Regions from separate parts of the Homo sapiens genome. Here regions 2, 3, 4, 5 and 6 are each linked to region 1. Evidence: promoter capture Hi-C in 16 types of primary human blood cells and fetal thymus (Javierre and others, 2016). All regions are on one chromosome and are shown on one strand. Each heading gives the region's core, a stretch centred on a gene start or on the middle of the fragment in contact. The rest is flanking DNA. Distances are from core to core; before and after follow the strand shown.

Region 1 (3,231 bases), core at 518-3,017:
GGTTGAAGGTCAAGACAATAGCTCTCAATTCCCTACTTTTGTTAGGATTGTATGAAGGGTCCTTCCAGCACTGTCCCAGTATGGTGCTCGGCTAATGGAAAACCAATCTCTGTAACTTGGACTAGTTTTATTCCCACCTTATCTGGGAATTATAAGGGTATAAGGTTGTAAAAATATAAAGTTAACAATCTGACCCTCACTTGGGAATCATAAAATTACAATCTGATATCCACTTTACTTGGAACTTATGGTCAGCCCTCTGTATCCTCAATCAACCTGGGACTGAAAGTATTTGAAAAAATTACAATAACAAAAAATAATAAAAAATCATAGAAATAAAAAAGTACAGTGTAATATCTATTTACATAGCATTTACATTGTATTAGGTATTATAAGTACAGCAGGTCCTGGAATAACATCATTTCATCATTTTGCTCAGTGGTTTTCTTATAATGATGAGAAAAAAATAGATTTCTGGCTGGGTCCACTGTCACGTTTTATCCATGTCTGTGTGGATTTTCTCTGTCTTCTGGTGTCCTGTCACATCCCAAAGCCGTGCAGTGCACTTTAGGTAAATTGGTGCATCTACACGATCCGAGTGTGAGTGTGGGTGTGTGTGAGCACACCCTGTGAGGTGCCCTGAGTTGGAATAAGCCGGTAAAAATGATCTCACTTTTATTAATCTTTATTTTTCTCTAAGCGAGAGGGATAGGGGGTGTTTAAAAAAAACTTTTTCTTTGAGACAGAGCTGTGCTCTGTCGCCCAGGCTAGAGTACAGTGACATGATCTCGGCTCACTGCAACCTCTGGCTCCTGGGTTCAAGCGATTCTCCTGCCTCAGCCTCCCGAGTAGCTGAGAATACAGGCACGCGCCACCACACCCAGCCAATTTTCTGTATTTTTAGTAGAGATGGGGTTTCGCCATGTTGGCCAAGCTGGTCTTGAACTTCTGGCCTCACGTGATCTGCCCACCTCAGCCTCCCAAAGTGTTGGGATTATAGGCGTGAGCTAAAAATCTTCCTTAAATATATGCATGGCTCACACTTATTTCAATGTTTAATATTAGAAGTGTTTTGGTCTTTATTTCGAAGTTTAGGGGCGATTTTGTGACCACAGATATGTTGTAGGAACTTCACTCATATCAATTAGCCTGTGGTCAAACTGTTTTCCTTACAGTCATTTGGCTTAAAGTTTCAGTTTCCAAGAACCCCTCCACGATGTTAGGTGAGGACTTAGGGAATGTGGAGATGACCTAAAGTTTATGATGGGAAGATGTGTGTAGGTGATATGCAAACACTTTTTTTTTTTTTTTTTTTTACCAAGGACTTGAGCATTTGTGGACGTGGGTCCCCTGGAGGGGCCCTGGAACCAATCAGGACTATAAAATCCTTTTAAGGTTTTAAGAAGAGCATTGTTATCTCTGTGGTACTGACGAAGACCCCGCAAGCTCACCGAGATTAAGTGCCCCTGCCTAAGGTTACAAAGCCTCTTATCCTCAGGCCACCTCCAGTACAGCAAATCCAAGCCCTCCCGTCTAAACTTGGCGCCCTGAGTACCAAGGGTCACCTCGGCCTTTCAGGCTGAAGGGAGGGAGGCTGAGTCTCAGGGCAGAGTCTGAGTCCCACTCCGCACCCCACCCTCTGTCTGGTACAGCTTACCAAACCAAAGTGCCCAAAGCCGTGACATCCCGGCCGGCGGCTCGCAGGCCCCCGCCCTCCGCACGTCACGGCCGCCGGGTGCAGTGCCCCCTAGGGGCCCCTGGGACGAGGAGGAAGCGCCAGGTCCTTCCCGCCGCCGCCGCCGCCGCCGCCGCCTGCTCCCCTGGCACGCGCCCCGCCGCCCTCGGCAGCCGCAGCTCCGTGTCCCCTGAGAACCAGCCGTCCCGCGCCATGGGCACGCGTCTGCCGCTCGTCCTGCGCCAGCTCCGCCGCCCGCCCCAGCCCCCGGGCCCTCCGCGCCGCCTCCGTGTGCCCTGTCGCGCTAGCAGCGGCGGCGGCGGAGGCGGCGGCGGTGGCCGGGAGGGCCTGCTTGGACAGCGGCGGCCGCAGGATGGCCAGGCCCGGAGCAGCTGCAGCCCCGGCGGCCGAACGCCCGCGGCGCGGGACTCCATCGTCAGGTGAGTGTCGGGTCTGGCCCTGGCCCAGGTCTCCAGCGGCTGTGGCCCCGACCCAGGGGCGGAGCGCCCGGGACCGCCGTGGGGAGCGGGGCGCGGGGCTGCGAGTGTTTGGTGCCAACTCATTAGGGGGGCCGGGCGGTGTGTCGGGAAACGCGGGCTTGGGCACTGCGGCCGGGAGCGCTGGCGGAGAACGGGGGATCCAGTACCCGACCGGGCCCGCAGCGCAGGTGGGCGTGGGCATCTCCAATGGGCGCCTAGCGGCATGGACCGCACGCCCGGCTCCACGTGCGCAGCCGGCCGCCGGCTCTGATGCAATCGCGCCGGGCGCGACCCAGACGGTAAAGGGGCGGTGCGGCTGGGGCGGAAACCAGGGGAGGGGGCGAGGAGCAGGAGGAGGGCGGGGCTGCGGCTCGGCGCGCCGGCTGGCCCGGGGTTCGGGAAGGGCAAGCGGAGCTCGGGAGAGGCGGGCTCGGGCCCAGCGCCGCCCGCGCGAAGCTCCCTGGTGTTGTGCGCCCTTCCCCGCGCGCGGCCCCTCCTGCTGGGCTGGGGTCTGTGGCTGACGTCCGCTTTTCCCGGAACGGCAAAGGTGGAGCCGGGCCCCCGGGACAGCCGCCGGGGGGAATCCGAGAGGTCTCAGCGCTGGTTTCCAGCTTCGCCGCGCAGCGCCCACGGAGTCCCCGCGCAGCTGGGTTTGCAGGGTTTTCTGCGGGCCCAGAGCGAACTGGGAGCCCCGGGCCCGGCCTTTCCCGTCCCGGTCCCCGCCCCTGGGCTCCAGCCTTCCCCGCCCTCGCCCAGAGGGGCGCACGGGTCTCGGGCCTTGCAGGGCGAGCCCTTCGGGACAACTTGGGGGTGGCAAGAAAGCCCCTTCCGCCTCCCTCGGAACTGGGATTAGGAACGAGTTCCAGGATGCGGTTTCCCCGGCCAGCGGACCACCTCCTCCATTCACATCCTCTTCCCTTTCCTTCTAGCCTTCTTTCTTAGTCATTGCCTGCTTGCCTTTCTCTCTGCCTTTCCTTCCTCCCTCTGCTCTCCCATTTTCCTCCCCACTCCCCTTCTCCCATCTCAGTAAAATACGTTTCCTAGGCTCTTTATTATGTGGCGGATGATTTTAAGGGG
Region 2 (3,374 bases), core at 686-3,185, 420 kb after region 1:
CTCACTGCACCCTCCGCCTCCCAGGTTCGAGCGGGAGGCAGAGGTTGCAGTGAGCCGAGTAGTAGCTGCCTCAGCCTCCTGAATAGCTGGGACTACAGGCGCGTGCCACCACGCCCAGCTAATTTTTGTATTTTTAGTAGAGACAGGGTTTTGCCATGTTGGCCAGGCTGGTCTTGATTTCCTGACCTCAGGTGATCCACCCACCTCGGCCTCCCAAAGTGCTGGGATTACAGGTGTGAGCCACCGTGCCCAGCCTGCCCATACATCTTAAGGGACCTCCAGCTCACGCATGGGGGTTTTCCAGCCCACATGCCCAACCTTCACCAAAACAAATGTGCTGTAGCCCTTTGGTCTAGAGGTGCCCAGGGAAGAGGCTTGCATAGGTTCTGAGAATTCCAAATCTTGGGCCCCCAGGACAGGTGGATGTTAATTTCAGGAAGGTTTGCCCTTTTGGTTGCTGCGGGGGAAGGATGTAGCCAGAGGAGGGCCAGAATGGGGCTCTCCGCAGTGAGGGGCTCTGCCTGGGTCTGATGGTGTTACTGCTCACAGGGATTCTTTGAAGCAGCTGCTGATTCCCCGACTTCTCTTGTCTATTGGTTGAATAATGTTTTCCCTGCTGTCTACCTATCAGGTTATTCATTCCTGATTACTGTCAATGTTCAGGCTGGTCAAACTTGAAATCATTAACTATATAAAGTGTATTATGTATAAAGTGCTAGATTTGTAAGAAAGTTGCTATCTTCATCTTCATGGAGTTTAGTTTTTATCTTGGCTAAGCTCTTGCTAATTTCCCACAGTATAGCCTGCACTCATGTTATGAAAAAATTTAGATGACTGTTGAAGAGTATTCAGGATTTCTTTCTTACTTCTCGGCCCAGGACTGAGCCTTTATGAAAGTGGGTAGCAGGAGATTTTAGAAAAGTGGAGGCCCTTGTATAAGGAGGCTGGGCTCCATTTAATGACGGTGAGGAGGCACACTTTAGGAACTAAAGGAGACCAGCATGACAGATTGAGCGTTAAGGTAGAACTAAACAAGAGGCACTCAAAGGCAGGGAGATCAGCTCTTAGGATATTGCATTAAATCAACCATGAAATGCTAAAGCTTGAACTAGGGCAGAAATCAAGCAATGGGTACAGACAGCATTGAACACAAAAGAAATGGTAGGATTTGAGGGAGCATGAGGATGACCAAGATGCAGAAAAGCCCAAGATGGTCTCCAGGTTTCTAGGCTTTTCCAACGAGGATGCTAATTCTTTGCCTGAAAAAGAGTATTATCAAGTAAAGACATGGTCTCACTGTTGACCCAGAAAATAGAGGGACAGGGTAACAAAAGCAGTGATTTGTTTTCTGTAATACTAATGGCTGACACTGACTAGTGCTTACTGTGTCAGGTGCTGTCTGTCCTACGCGCTTGGTACACTTGTGATAGACACTTATAAATCCCCATTGTACCAATGAGGAAGCAGGCACCTAGAGGTGAAGGAACCTTACAGGTAGGGCCTCTTCTCAAGGCGAGGCATTCTGATCAGAGAATGCCTAAGAGAGGGAGAGACAGAGACAGAATTCAGTATAAAGACAGAAAGCCCACTGTTAAAAGCAATGTCAGGTGTTTTTCTGAGAGCTCAGAAGCTGTCACTGACATAACCAAACCTCAAATCCGGGAGTCATTCTTTTTCCGTTGGCAAGTCCCGCAGGCCTCATCTCCAAAGACATTTCACATCGACCCATTCTGTCCACAGGGCCTTCCCTGGCTTCATTTCTCCCCTGAATGGACACAGCAGCAGCCTTCCTGCCTCCAGCTTGCTCTCCTTCAGCTCCTCTCTGCAGGCAGATTGCTGGTTTGGGGGTTTTTAGGGTTTGTCTGTGGTCAATTTATATCTGATAAAGCGAGCAAGTCTTAAGCGTATAGCTTGGTGAGTTCTTACAAGGTGAACGCACGAGTAACCCTCTCCCAGGTCAGGTTGGAGAACCTCGCCAGTGCCCCAGAAGCCTCCCTTGCATCTCCTCCTGGTTATTGCTCCATTACATTCTGACTTCTGTCTGCACAGATCAGTGTCACACATCGTTCACCAGGTATGCAGTGATCTTTGAAACCTGCACGTTGAGTCATGTCGTTACCAGAACTCCTGGCATCACTTCCACATTGCACTCTTTGCCATTGCCTGACATGAGATAAATAAGAATGCATGGCTGGGTGTGGTGGCTAACACCTGTAATCCCGGCACTTTGGGAAGCCGAGGTGGAAGGATCGCTTGAGCCCAGGAGTTTGAGACCAGCCTGGGCAACATGGCGAAACCCTGTCTCTACAAAAAATACAAAAAAATTAGCTGGGTGTGGCAGTGTGCGCCTGTAGTCCCAGCTACTTGGGGGGCTGAGGCTGGAGTATTGCTTGAGCCTGAGAGGTCAGAGCTGCAGTGAGCCATAACTGAGCTACTGCACTCCAGTCTGGGCAACAGAGCAAGACCCTGTCTCAAACAAAACCGAAACCAAAAACAAAGAATGAACACATGTCGATGTCTTATTTCTCTCTTCCCTGCCATTGGTACTTTTTGCCTATTCAGATCCAGCTCAAAACTCAACTTTTTCTGGTACACTTTCTCTTATCAACAGAACTGAAAGAGACCCCTCCCTGTTAGTACTATGTGTCTTAGTACTCTGTCTTTGATGTGTGGCACTTCCTTTTGACTTGACGCATCCAGATGACATAGGAACCCATCACAGGGATTAATCAAATGTTGACTAACGCATGGGGACCCAGGGTGGAACCAAAGCTTTTGCAAAATGATGAACATTCAGAGGCTTTGGAGAGTGAACTTGGAGGTCAACAAAGAGAATGAAATGCAAGATGCAGTATGAGCATGTGGTGGGTCTGGACTGCAAGATTCAGGCACTTTATTTTAGGAATAGTTAATGTGAAGAACATGATTTATGAACGACAGAGTGGGGAGTGTATTGAGACCAAGTAAGACTAATGCTCCATTGTGAAAACTTACATATCAAAGCAAATATATTGTCCCCTCTGTCCCCAGAAGCAATAACTGGAAACAGTTTTAGAGGACATAACCTAATTGGTATAAAAACTTTTCACTCTCAGAACTATTTTTCCCATTGTCATAGGAGTGGATACCAAATAATGTTTTCCTGTCTTGGCAGTGATTCACATTACTGAGTTTGCTATTGAACTATTTTTTCCTTGCCAGGAAGTACACATCAGAGAGCTGCATTTCACTGTGTGTGTGTGTGTGTGTGTGTGTGTGTGTGTGTATCTATTTCAATCTACTGATTACCAAAGAGCTTATAATTCTTAATGGAGAGTTTGTGGAAAAGATGAAAAAAGGATTTTTTTAAAGAACAATAACCAGAAAGTTTGAGA
Region 3 (3,329 bases), core at 219-2,718, 460 kb after region 1:
TTACCAGCAAGAAATCTTACGTAGTGGAAAAAGTAAAAATGAAAGGGAGTTTCAGCTGTCATTTGGTTTTTGCTCCGCAAGTTATTCTGATGGGGAAGATTCATAATCATCATCTTTAAATAGTTGCTCAGAATCTTGAAAAGCCATGAGAGCTTTAAAAATTGACAGTAACAACCGGGCGCGGTGGCTCACGCCTGTAATCCCAGGACTTTGGGAGGCCGAGGTGGGCGGATCACGAGGTCAGGAGATCGAGACCATCCTGGCTAACACGGTGAAACCCCGTCTCTAGTAAAAATACAAAAAAATTAGCCGGGTGTGGTGGCGGGTGCCTGTAGTCCCAGCTACTTGGGAGGCTGAGGCAGGAGAATGGCGTGAACTCGGGAGGCAGAGCTTGCAGTGAGCCGAGATCGCGCCTCTGCACTCCAGCCTGGGCGACAGAGCGAGACTCCATCTCAAAAAAAAAAAAAAAATTGACAGTAAGGTGGCCGGGCGCGGCGGCTCACGCCTGTGATTCCAGCACTTTGGGAGGCGGAGGCGGGCGGATCACGAGGTCAGGAGTACAAGACTAGCCTGACCAACATGGTGAAACCCCGTCTCTACTAAAAATACAAAAATTAGCTGGACGTGGTAGTGTGCACCTGTGATCCCAGCTACTCGGGAGGCTGAGGCAGGAGAATTGCTTGAACCTGGGAGGCAGAGGTTGCAGTGAGTCAAGATTGTGCCACTGCACTCCAGCCTGGGTGACAGAGCAAGACTCCGTCTCAAAAAAAAAAAAAAAAATTAAATTGACAGTAAGGTTTAATGAAATCTTAAAGGTCTTTGCATCTTTGGGATTATTCACTTAAATACTATAGAAGGTTATTGTAGTTATCTTTAGTACTATGTTATTTTAGGAGGCCTGTGTTTAAATTTTACAATTCATTAACAGGACTGATGGCATTTTGTAGGAACTACTTAGGAACAAGTTTGCATTTCTGAAAGTAAGGAAAAGCTGTCACTTAATACTATTATCCCCCTCCCCCCTGCCACACACACAACCCAGTTTACACAAACCACTAAAATGAATGCAGTGGAAATTGAATTATGAAATGATTGCTTATTCACATTACATACTGTTGCCATTCTTGGGGTCTCTTTCTCTCACATCTCATTTGCAATAAGTTAGCTTTGAGACAAGAAATAAGTGATGTGACACGATGATCATCCCCTTCCCCACTCAACTGTAAATGGCGTGCCAGCATAAAAATGCCTTTTTTTTTGAGATGAAGTCTCACTCTGTCACCCAGGCTGGAGTGCAGTGGCGCGATCTCAGCTCACTGCAACCTCCACCTCCCGGGTTCAAGCAGTTCTCCCTGCCTCAGCCTCCCAAGCAGCTGGGATTACAGGCACCTGCCACCACGCCCCGCTAATGTTTGTATTTTTAGTAGAGACGAGGTTTCGCCATGTTGGCCAGGCTGGTCTTGAACTCCTGACCTCAGGTGATCCACCCGCCTCAGCCTCCCAAAGTGGTGTGAGCCACCACGCCCGGCCAAAAAAATGCTTTTTGAATTAAGCAAGTATCTTTTCGCTTTTCTCTAACACCCACATTACTGAAACTGATAATATTGATACATTGCAAACTGTGAAGTATCATGAGAAACAGGGACATTATTCTTTAAAGTAGAAACTGGGGAAGAATCAATCCTCCAACGTTCATGTTAGTTCTAGATTATTTATAATGCACTTTCCGATGCAAATAATTTTTACAAGAGAAAAAAATACCTTGCACATGGGTGTTTCACATCTGCTATGGAGACAGATTCCTTGTCAAGAGACTTTGGAGACACGAAATTGATACTTTCACAACTGCTGGATTAATAACTACCACTTCCTGAGTGCCTAGTCTGGCAGGTGTTGTTCAGCACTTTGTGGACATTATCATGTATTCCTCACAATAATCCTGCAAAAAGTGGTTCTGTAACCCCATTTCTATCATAAAAGTAAGTTTCTCATGATTTGATAATTACCCAAGGTTTCACAGCTAGAAAGAGCATAACTGTAGAGTACCTTGCAAAAGACCTCTTTCTCGTTGTGAAGATGCTAATACTTGTTTAGTGACCCACATTCTTACATGCCTGCCCAGATGTTTAAGGGATCGTGAAACATCAATATCAAGACCAGGGATTGGGACTGGGCACGGTGGCTTATGCCTGTAATCCCAGCACTTTGGGAGGCCAAGGCAGGTGGATCGCTTGAGTCCAGGAGTTTGAGACCAGCATGGTCAACGTAGGGGAGACCTCCTCTCTACAACAAATTAAAGATTTAGCTGTGCATGGTGGCACATGCCTGTAGTCCCAGTCACTTGGGAAGCTGAGGTAGGAGAATCACTTGCACCACTGAATTCCAGCCTGAGCAACAGAGCAAGACCCTGTCCCTACCCCACCCCCCAAAAAACACACCAGGTCCAATGATGATGTCACCTATATGCTCCAGTATGGGATCCTTGCTTTTATGAATTTGCATATATCTCCGCTTGGAGGTTTTCTGGTTAATGAGCTTTAGAACAAGGGAGATTGGGTGTGTAGCCTATAAGGGATGGACTTAGAATGCAGAGAATTCCTGGAAAAATTCCAGGACAATGCTACGAATCTTGGGGGAAAGATAACTAGTTCCAGATGTTACTGTAAGCCGTCCTGATGTGCCTGGGGATGGGGAGCACTGGTGATTCTCAGCCTGAAAAATGAACATGTCGTTTCTGCAGTATCGTACTTCTTTTTCTCAACCAAAAATGATGGTGCTGGTGTCACTGAAACCTGATAGCTAAGTTTTGGATAAAAACATTAATATTTTGTAGTATATAATCAACATATTCCTTTAAAGTTTTTTTTTCTTTTAAGCCTCTAAAAGAAAACAATTTATAATTTATCTCTTAATCGCTAAGTATTTGGAAAAGTGAGAAAAAAAAGATGATGCTCCAGGTTTTGAACACACGGGCTGTCTCTACATTATATGGAGCTTGCGGATGGGGAACACATAGCCAGCAGGGACCACTGTAGCTTAGCCCTTCTTGGGATCATGGAGCGTTTGCAGCTTTGGGGACGGGGAGATTATGGAGATTTTCGAAAGGAAAATGTGTATTTGCACATACACGTTATAGACCTGGAGACTGATTTTATAAATCGGGATTCACAGAACATTTATCTGGAGATAAACCCAGGTTAATAGCAGGTAACAACACCTCAGTGTGAAACACTTCAGTAATTCTTGGCCCAAGTGAGGTTTTTGTACATGAAATGATTTCAAGTTTTGATTTCTTACTACATCACTAAAGATGTAACTTTTCATATATT
Region 4 (2,974 bases), core at 186-2,685, 480 kb after region 1:
TAATCAGGAGGCTGAGGTGGGAGAATCACTTGAACCTAGGACAGAGGTTGCAGTGAACCGAGATCGTGCCACTGTGCTCCAGCCTGGGCGACAGAGTGAGACTCTGTCTCAAAAAAAAAAAAAAAAAAAGTTAATTTTCTTGGGCTAGGCACTATAGCTCACACTTGTAATCCCACTGCTTTGAGAAGCTGAGACAGGAGGGTCACTTGAGCCCAGCAGTTGGAGAGCAGCCTGGACAACATAGTGAGATCTCATCTCTACAGAAAATAAAAAACTTAGCTGGACATGGTGGCATGTGCCTGTAGTCCCAGCTACTCGGGATGCTGAGGTGGGAGGATTCCTTGAGCCTGGGAGGTTGAGGCTGCAGTGAGCCGAGACCACACCACTGCCCTCCAGCCGGGGCAAGAGAGTGAGGCCCTGTCGGAGAAAAACAATTTTCTTGTATTGTAATCACCTTTTCTCTTCTCCCCACCCCCCCGCCCCTTTTTGTTAATAGTTGGACAGAGAGACTCTGAAGATGTGAGCAAAAGAGACTCCGATAAAGAGATGGCTACTAAGTCAGCGGTTGTTCACGACATCACAGATGATGGGCAGGAGGAGACACCCGAAATAATCGAACAGATTCCTTCTTCAGAAAGCAATTTAGAAGAGCTAACACAACCCACTGAGTCCCAGGCTAATGATATTGGATTTAAGAAGGTGTTTAAGTTTGTTGGCTTTAAATTCACTGTGAAAAAGGATAAGACAGAGAAGCCTGACACTGTCCAGCTACTCACTGTGAAGAAAGATGAAGGGGAGGGAGCAGCAGGGGCTGGCGACCACAAGGACCCCAGCCTTGGGGCTGGAGAAGCAGCATCCAAAGAAAGCGAACCCAAACAATCTACAGAGAAACCCGAAGAGACCCTGAAGCGTGAGCAAAGCCACGCAGAAATTTCTCCCCCAGCCGAATCTGGCCAAGCAGTGGAGGAATGCAAAGAGGAAGGAGAAGAGAAACAAGAAAAAGAACCTAGCAAGTCTGCAGAATCTCCGACTAGTCCCGTGACCAGTGAAACAGGATCAACCTTCAAAAAATTCTTCACTCAAGGTTGGGCCGGCTGGCGCAAAAAGACCAGTTTCAGGAAGCCGAAGGAGGATGAAGTGGAAGCTTCAGAGAAGAAAAAGGAACAAGAGCCAGAAAAAGTAGACACAGAAGAAGACGGAAAGGCAGAGGTTGCCTCCGAGAAACTGACCGCCTCCGAGCAAGCCCACCCACAGGAGCCGGCAGAAAGTGCCCACGAGCCCCGGTTATCAGCTGAATATGAGAAAGTTGAGCTGCCCTCAGAGGAGCAAGTCAGTGGCTCGCAGGGACCTTCTGAAGAGAAACCTGCTCCGTTGGCGACAGAAGTGTTTGATGAGAAAATAGAAGTCCACCAAGAAGAGGTTGTGGCCGAAGTCCACGTCAGCACCGTGGAGGAGAGAACCGAAGAGCAGAAAACGGAGGTGGAAGAAACAGCAGGGTCTGTGCCAGCTGAAGAATTGGTTGAAATGGATGCAGAACCTCAGGAAGCTGAACCTGCCAAGGAGCTGGTGAAGCTCAAAGAAACGTGTGTTTCCGGAGAGGACCCTACACAGGGAGCTGACCTCAGTCCTGATGAGAAGGTGCTGTCCAAACCCCCCGAAGGCGTTGTGAGTGAGGTGGAAATGCTGTCATCACAGGAGAGAATGAAGGTGCAGGGAAGTCCACTAAAGAAGCTTTTTACCAGCACTGGCTTAAAAAAGCTTTCTGGAAAGAAACAGAAAGGGAAAAGAGGAGGAGGAGACGAGGAATCAGGGGAGCACACTCAGGTTCCAGCCGATTCTCCGGACAGCCAGGAGGAGCAAAAGGGCGAGAGCTCTGCCTCATCCCCTGAGGAGCCCGAGGAGATCACGTGTCTGGAAAAGGGCTTAGCCGAGGTGCAGCAGGATGGGGAAGCTGAAGAAGGAGCTACTTCCGATGGAGAGAAAAAAAGAGAAGGTGTCACTCCCTGGGCATCATTCAAAAAGATGGTGACGCCCAAGAAGCGTGTTAGACGGCCTTCGGAAAGTGATAAAGAAGATGAGCTGGACAAGGTCAAGAGCGCTACCTTGTCTTCCACCGAGAGCACAGCCTCTGAAATGCAAGAAGAAATGAAAGGGAGCGTGGAAGAGCCAAAGCCGGAAGAACCAAAGCGCAAGGTGGATACCTCAGTATCTTGGGAAGCTTTAATTTGTGTGGGATCATCCAAGAAAAGAGCAAGGAGAGGGTCCTCTTCTGATGAGGAAGGGGGACCAAAAGCAATGGGAGGAGACCACCAGAAAGCTGATGAGGCCGGAAAAGACAAAGAGACGGGGACAGACGGGATCCTTGCTGGTTCCCAAGAACATGATCCAGGGCAGGGAAGTTCCTCCCCGGAGCAAGCTGGAAGCCCTACCGAAGGGGAGGGCGTTTCCACCTGGGAGTCATTTAAAAGGTTAGTCACGCCAAGAAAAAAATCAAAGTCCAAGCTGGAAGAGAAAAGCGAAGACTCCATAGCTGGGTCTGGTGTAGAACATTCCACTCCAGACACTGAACCCGGTAAAGAAGAATCCTGGGTCTCAATCAAGAAGTTTATTCCTGGACGAAGGAAGAAAAGGCCAGATGGGAAACAAGAACAAGCCCCTGTTGAAGACGCAGGGCCAACAGGGGCCAACGAAGATGACTCTGATGTCCCGGCCGTGGTCCCTCTGTCTGAGTATGATGCTGTAGAAAGGGAGAAAATGGAGGCACAGCAAGCCCAAAAAAGCGCAGAGCAGCCCGAGCAGAAGGCAGCCACTGAGGTGTCCAAGGAGCTCAGCGAGAGTCAGGTTCATATGATGGCAGCAGCTGTCGCTGACGGGACGAGGGCAGCTACCATTATTGAAGAAAGGTCTCCTTCTTGGATATCTGCTTCAGTGACAGAACCTCTTGAACAAGTAGAAGCTGAAGCCGCACTGTTAA
Region 5 (3,034 bases), core at 252-2,751, 500 kb after region 1:
CCAAAGTGCTGGGATTATAGGCGTGAGCCACCACGCCTGGCCAAGTTAAATTAAATATTATGTATTCTATTTTTATACAGAACTCCAGGAGTTCCTTATCAAATGCCACCATCAACATCAGCACTGCTCCTGGGCTTTACAGGGATGCCTTCTCACTTGATTGTCATTCATTCTCATTTTACAGGAAAGGATTGAGGATTAGAGGGTTAATAACCTGCTCAATATCATGTAGTTGGTAAGAGGTGGAGCTGGTATTTGAAACAATGTTTGTCTAAGTCCAAAGCCACCACAGCAAGATCCTTTAGAGAATCAAAACAATCCTGTATGGTAGATAAAGTGGATTTATTTAGTCCGATTTGACAGATATGGAAACTGAGGTCCCAAAAAGTTAAGTGATTTATCTAAGGCACCTAAAGCCGTTGAAGATGCTATTAATTTTATAACTTTAGATTCTACTCCTTTTATCATTTCAGAAACATCATTCCTGATCAAGCAGTAATAATGAAGAGGTTCCCAAGAACTCTTCCCAGACCATCGGTAGTAACAAATTCTAAAGCATCATTAGAAATTAGTGAGATCTATATCCACATATCACAAGGTATATATTATATTCCACTGAGTGGATATTCTATAGACAATGCATTTCAAATTCAAAGACAGCTTCCTTGAATGCTTTTAGAATTTATAATTTTCTTTTATTATACTTTTTGTATTGTAATCTTCTTTGGCCCTTTTAGCAATCATGTTCATTTGATTAACAAATATTTTCTTTTCTTTTCTTTTTTTGAGACGGAGTCTTGCTCTGTCACCCAGGCTGGACTGCAGTGGTGCGATCTCGGCTCACTGCAAGCTCCGCCTCCCGGGTTCACACCATTCTCCTGCCTCAGCCTCCAGAGTAGCTGGGACTACAGGTGTCCGCCACCACACCCGGCTAATTTCTTTTTGTATTTTTAGTAGAGACGGGGTTTCACCATGTTAGCCAGGATGGTCTTGATCTGCTGAACTCGTGATCTGCCCGCCTCGGCCTCCCAAAGTGCTGGGATTACAGGTGTGAGCCACCGCGCCTGGCAACTTTGTTGTTTTTTGTTTTGTTTTGAGACAGAGTCTCACTCTGTCACCAGGCTGGAGTGCAGTGGCACAATCTCAGCTCACTGCACCCTCCATCCCCTCGTCCAAGTGATTCTCCTTCCTCAGCCTCCCGAGTAGCTGGGATTACAGGCGTGTGCCACCAGTCCCGGCTAGTTTTTGTGTATTTAGTAGGGATGGGGTTTTGCCATGTTGGCCAGGCTGGTCTCGAACTCCTGACCTCAGGTGATCTGCCCACCTCGGCCTCCCAAAGTGATGGGATTACAGGCGTGAGCTACTGCGCCTGGTCATTTTTCTTTCTTTTTTTTTTTAATTTTGAGACGAAGTCTTGCTCTGCTGCCCAGGCTGGAGTGCAGTGGCATGATTTTGGCTCACTGCAATCTCCGCCTCCCAGGTTCAAGTGATTCTTCTGCTTCGCCTCCCAAGTTGGGATTACAGGTGCCCGCCACCAGGCCCAGCTAATTTTTGTATTTTTTTTAGTAGAGACAGGATTTCACTGTGTTGGCCAGGCTGGTCTTGAACTCCTGACCTCAAGTGATCTGCCCATCTCGGCCTCCCAAAGTGCTAGGATTACAGGCATGAACCACCGCGCCTGGCTGACTTTGGTGTAAATTTTGTAATTCTTTTCTCATTCATTGTTGGATAGGCTGTCTTATCTATCACTTATGAATGGTGACTCAACGGTAAGCCTCTCAAATTTGAAAGAACTATGTACAGTCTCAGATGGCAAAAAAGGGACACAGCTGGGGACACCTTGGCCCACACTTTAGGCAGGCCTGGAGGGAGGACTCCAAGGGGCCAGGGAAAAGAAAGCGGCGAGTCCCTGGGGTTTACAGCCAGGGATGCGAGGGCCCAAGGAGGTCTCCAAACACCAATTTATTTTGATTAAAAACAATTTTTTTTGAGAGAGGGGGTCTTGCTCTGTAGGCCCAGGCTGGAGTGCAGTGGCATGATCATAGCTGACTGCAGCCTCAGCCTCCTGAGTAGCTCAGACTATAGGCACATGCCACTACACCCAGCTAATTTTTAAACTTTTATAGAGACAGGGCCTCACCATCTTGCCCAGGTTGGTCTTGAACTCCTGGGCTCAAGAAATCCTCCTGCCTCAGCCTTGGGATTACAGCATTGGGATTACAGGCGTGAACCACTGCACGCAGCCTTAAAAAAAAATTTTTTTTTTTAAAGCAGAAGCACATGTGCACACATACACTTAAAAAACAGGTGGAGGCTGGGCGCAGTGGCTAATGCCTATAATCCCAGCACTTTGGGAGGCCGAGGTGGGTGGATCACCTGGGGTCAGGTGTTCAAGACCAGCCTGGCCAACATGGCAAAACCCTGTCTCTATTAAAAATACAAAAATTAGCCGGGCGTGGTGGTGCGCAGCTGTAACCCCAGCTACTGGGATCGCACTCCAGCCTGGGCGACAAGAGCGAGACTCCATCTCAAAACAAACAAACAAACAAACAAAAAACAGGTAGAATTTTTCAAAGTTCCTTAATGTACATTTCAGCCATCTCCATCCCTGACTGCTTTTATTTCCAGGCAGCTTGACCTCTGTCAATCACTCAGCTCACTATGCGCCAGACTTTGGTCTTTTCCCAGTCCTGTGGAAAGGACATAGTTCTCTACAATATACTTACATCTAAGTAGTTTCCAGATATGTTTGACATAACATTTTTTTTTGTTTTGAAATGGAGTTTCACTCTTGTTGCCCAGGCTGGAGTGCAGTGACACGATCTCGGCTTACTGCAACCTCCGCCTCCCGGGTTCAAGCAATTCTCCTGCCTCAGTCTCCCGAGTAGCTGGGATTACAGGTGCACGCCACGATGCCCGGCTAATTTTTCTATTTTTAGTAGAGATGGGGTTTCACCATGTTGGCCAGGCTGGTTGACATACTTTCATGTAGGAAAAAGATGAATATAGTTTTACTACAGCTATAAGCCCTTTC
Region 6 (3,381 bases), core at 805-3,304, 440 kb after region 1:
AAGTTTAGCAGTGTAGGGTTGTATACCGACTTTAGTAACACTGATGTTAATTTCTGATAACCCACTACCATCGGACCAGCCTAAAAATGAATTCTTAACTCCATTTTACAGAGAATGGGGAAGATATGAGGGAGGTAAGAAATGTGCTCAAGGTCGTGAAAGTAACTTCCTTAAGGCGGAAGCAAATGTATATGAAACACACTTGTGAAATGGGTACATAATGCATAGGATACATGTGTTCTCTGTCAGGAGCCTGTAGTGGCCTGCTGTAGAACTGTGATATGCTTGGCTCCGTCCCGTTCAATGTTTTTGATGAATGGCTTAGCTGAGGACATTAATATGTTATTTACATTTGGAGATGATATAAACAGAGGAGTTAAAGCTCCAGCAGTGTGGCCTGTTGGCCTAGATGATCTTAAAAGATTTATGAACCCTGGCAAGCAAGGTTATTAACATGCTTGAAGCCTAAGAATCTATGAGTTTTAGGGTTCAATGTATTTTCACTTCTACAGTGATAAAGTGAGTAAAAAGGAAACCGTGTCTGTTCTCCCAATTTCCCTCTAAGAGGATAAAACCAAACAACAACAATGCCATAGAGGTAACCATTATTAAAGATTTGGTACATATTGTTCCAGACTTTAAAAAAAATGCTTACACAAACATTGACTCCTTTTCTCTCTCCCTTTTCCTCTTCCTCTCCCTCTTTGTCAGTGGGTTATTTTTGTTTAGTTTGGTTTTAAACACATAAAAGAATCATTCTCAGCAACTTGCTTCTTTTCCCCCTTAAGCCAGGGACATCTTCACACATGAGTGTGTCTAAATCTACCTCATAGCTTTTGATGTTGTCTATTGCATGAACATTTCATAATTTAACTACTCCCCTCTACTGATAGACATTTAAGGGTTTTTTTTTTTTTTGCTATTATGAAGTATTTATTACTTATTTATTTTTCCTTTGTAGAGACTGGGTTTCAGTTTGTTGCCCAGGCTGGTCTCAAACTCCTGGCTTAAAGCCATCCTCCTGCCTCAGCCTCCCAAAGTGCTGGAATTATAGGCATGAGGCACCACGCCCAACCCTATTATAAGTTATTATGTGTTGCACCTCATAAATATGTAATGCCATATCTATTAGAATGGCATGGTGTAGCTAATGGGTTTGCGTATTTAAAATTCTATCCCTATTTCCAAATTGCCTTCCAGGGATATTGTTTACTGATTTGTACTCTGGTTTTTATTTTTTTTGTTTGACATTTTTAAAGATTTACTTTCAAAACACTTTCTATTAGAATGAAGGAGAAAACACAATGAAGAGGTTTCTTTACAAGTTTTGTCGTGGGATTTAAAATTCCTTCCAGATAATCTTTAAGTCTGATGATTTGATCATTTGTGGGTGTGTCCTGGTTATATTGGCTTCTGGTTCCTTCCCACGAAGGCCACTTACAGGTTTGCTTCTTGGTCATACTGCCCGGGGTGGGACGAATTGCCCCTTTGGAGCCTCGTCTACTGTGTGAACTGCAGGAGTGCTGGGCCACTTGCACCCGGTCGTCCAATGAGGATGTAGATCTGGGAGTATCACTTCTGCAGTGAAAAGGGTTGCTTTGGTTGGCTTACCTCCTCTGCCCCTGGCATCCTGACAGCTGTCAAGGGCTCATCATTTCACAACTTCATTAAACAGCCTGGTACTCCTGTTTCTTACTCTGCAAAGGAGGTCCCTAGCACGTTGTGGACTCCTGTGGAGAAGGAAGTGGATGGAGAAGTCTCCTAGTTTTTCTGTGGTGCCTTGGCTACCACTTGGACATTCTTGGTTGTTGTTCTTACAGAAATGAGAGGAAAACACTGTTGCTGGAAACATTTGAGGTTTTTAGGGTCTTTTTTTTTTTTAACAGCTTGTTTAGTTGTAATGTGGTAATACTTCATGGGAATAAACTCTGGCTGACCCACTCAAAGGATATAAGCTTGAAAACATTTAGGGTTTTGATTTGTTCAAAGGAGGCATTTGTGCTTTTTGAAGCACAAATCCAGTGGGAAAATAGGTTTTCTGGTGCTTACCATGTTTAAGTGTAAGGAGCGTGTCTTTCAAGTCTAGTTCTCATCTCAAAAGAAATAACTATTTATAAAACTAAGTTCAGGGTGGAGGGATAAAGCTATGCGAGGAAGCTTCGGAGTGGAAAAAGTGAAATATACATTTCCTCCTTCTTTCTTGTTTGGTAACAGTTAAGTCCCAGTATTACTTTCCTCCCTGAAATGGGTGGTCCTCGAATCCCATCTGGCTCCAATGAATCCCATCTGGTTCCACCGCCTCCTGTCCCATGTGCCACTATGTTGTGTCTGCATCTTTCAGGGTCTCTCTGGGCAGAGCTGTGTGTAAATCCTGTCTTCTGTGGCCATTTGAGTTGCAGACAGGAGAGACTGATTGAAGTTAAGCAAGGTGCGTGTTTATTAATAAAGAAATGTACCCACAATGTATGAAACCATCAGGTCATAAAATAACACGTGTTCCCCATTATTTTTTAAGTGAATGCTTGTGCCTGTATATATACACACGTAGAAAACACAGAAAAGACTTAAATGAATGTAGGTTTGATTTCCTCTATTTGAGGTGACTTTAACTTATTGATAACTCTCAGAAGTCCGTGAATTTTTAACAACGGTATGACTTATTTAGACGGTTTGGGGATGGAAGAAAAAACAAAAACACTTTTGATTTGGAGTGAAATAAAGGGAATTATCCATCTTTAACAACACGTGGGATTTGCAAAAGTGTGGACATGTCTGAATGTGACAATCTGACTAGGAATGAAGTCCCATTTTGTGCGGATGTTGGTGCCTCATAGGCTCTGAAAGCTCACCTGAGACATCACCCTTGAGGTCAAAGCTTGGGTACCCTGGCGGGACGCAAGCTATTCACATAGTAAAATAGACTCAAAACTCAGGTTCAGTAACGTCACTGTCATAAATCGTTTTCTACCGAAGTTAATAATGTATCTACGGCCTTTCTCAAGTAGGGACAGTTACCCTGTGGTTACTGAAAATTAGTATCTCATAATGTATTCATTATCATACTTAGGATGTAAGGATGTGTAGCATTTGACCTCAGTTTTTAAGGGTCCTTCTTTTTATCATCTAATGTACTTTGCTATGTGTGTGTAACATCTCTTTTTTTTTTCTTTTTTTTTTTTTAAGAGACGGAGTCTCCCTCTGTTGCCCAGGCTGGAGTGCGTGATCTCAGCTCGCTGCAACCTCCGCCTCCCAGGTTCAAGTGATTCTCCTGCCTCAGCTTCCCTAGTAGCTGGGATTATAGGCGCACACCACCACACTTGGCTAATTTTTTGCATTTTTAGTAGAGACGGGGTTTCACCATGTTAGCCAGGATGGTCTCGA

What was found. Contacts are between HindIII fragments. The CHiCAGO score rates a contact against its expected background, and 5 or more counts as called.
Region 2: a contact is called between a fragment that was not itself captured here and the fragment with the promoter of MTHFD1L in region 1, in 2 of 17 cell types (neutrophils and M1 macrophages). The highest score is 6.0, in neutrophils.
Region 3: a fragment that was not itself captured here is called in contact with the fragment with the promoter of MTHFD1L in region 1 in 5 of 17 cell types (monocytes, M2 macrophages, megakaryocytes and 2 more); the score reaches 8.5 in monocytes.
Region 4: a contact is called between a fragment that was not itself captured here and the fragment with the promoter of MTHFD1L in region 1, in 2 of 17 cell types (M2 macrophages and M0 macrophages). The highest score is 7.6, in M2 macrophages.
Region 5: a contact is called between a fragment that was not itself captured here and the fragment with the promoter of MTHFD1L in region 1, in 2 of 17 cell types (M0 macrophages and M2 macrophages). The highest score is 7.3, in M0 macrophages.
Region 6: a fragment that was not itself captured here is called in contact with the fragment with the promoter of MTHFD1L in region 1 in 1 of 17 cell types (M1 macrophages); the score reaches 5.8 in M1 macrophages.

Annotation. Positions count from the first base shown.
Region 1 is chr6:150,863,935-150,867,165 of GRCh38, forward strand. MTHFD1L (methylenetetrahydrofolate dehydrogenase (NADP+ dependent) 1 like) reads left to right here and starts at 1,768. Exons shown (of 28, transcript NM_015440.5): 1 at 1,768-2,115. The coding sequence starts at 1,889. RefSeq lists silencers at 1,610-1,839, 1,900-2,309, 2,470-2,669, 2,790-2,939. The HindIII fragment of the contact is 12,675 bases long and covers 1-3,231 here.
Region 2 is chr6:151,282,155-151,285,528 of GRCh38, forward strand. All of the region lies in intron 2 of AKAP12 (A-kinase anchoring protein 12), which reads left to right. Among named protein-coding and RNA genes, the nearest start is that of AKAP12, 44 kb to the left of the region's middle. RefSeq lists enhancers at 1,948-1,997, 2,008-2,057. The HindIII fragment of the contact is 1,670 bases long and covers 1,101-2,770 here.
Region 3 is chr6:151,327,874-151,331,202 of GRCh38, forward strand. The region is part of intron 3 of AKAP12 (A-kinase anchoring protein 12); the gene reads left to right. Among named protein-coding and RNA genes, the nearest start is that of ZBTB2, 62 kb to the right of the region's middle. The HindIII fragment of the contact is 6,146 bases long and covers 1-3,329 here.
Region 4 is chr6:151,348,215-151,351,188 of GRCh38, forward strand. AKAP12 (A-kinase anchoring protein 12) reads left to right here. Exons shown (of 5, transcript NM_005100.4): 4 at 497-2,974. Among named protein-coding and RNA genes, the nearest start is that of ZBTB2, 42 kb to the right of the region's middle. The HindIII fragment of the contact is 587 bases long and covers 1,143-1,729 here.
Region 5 is chr6:151,367,379-151,370,412 of GRCh38, forward strand. The region is part of intron 2 of ZBTB2 (zinc finger and BTB domain containing 2); the gene reads right to left. Among named protein-coding and RNA genes, the nearest start is that of ZBTB2, 23 kb to the right of the region's middle. The HindIII fragment of the contact is 6,019 bases long and covers 1-3,034 here.
Region 6 is chr6:151,298,853-151,302,233 of GRCh38, forward strand. All of the region lies in intron 2 of AKAP12 (A-kinase anchoring protein 12), which reads left to right. It also overlaps the pseudogene RNY4P20. Among named protein-coding and RNA genes, the nearest start is that of AKAP12, 61 kb to the left of the region's middle. The HindIII fragment of the contact is 202 bases long and covers 1,954-2,155 here.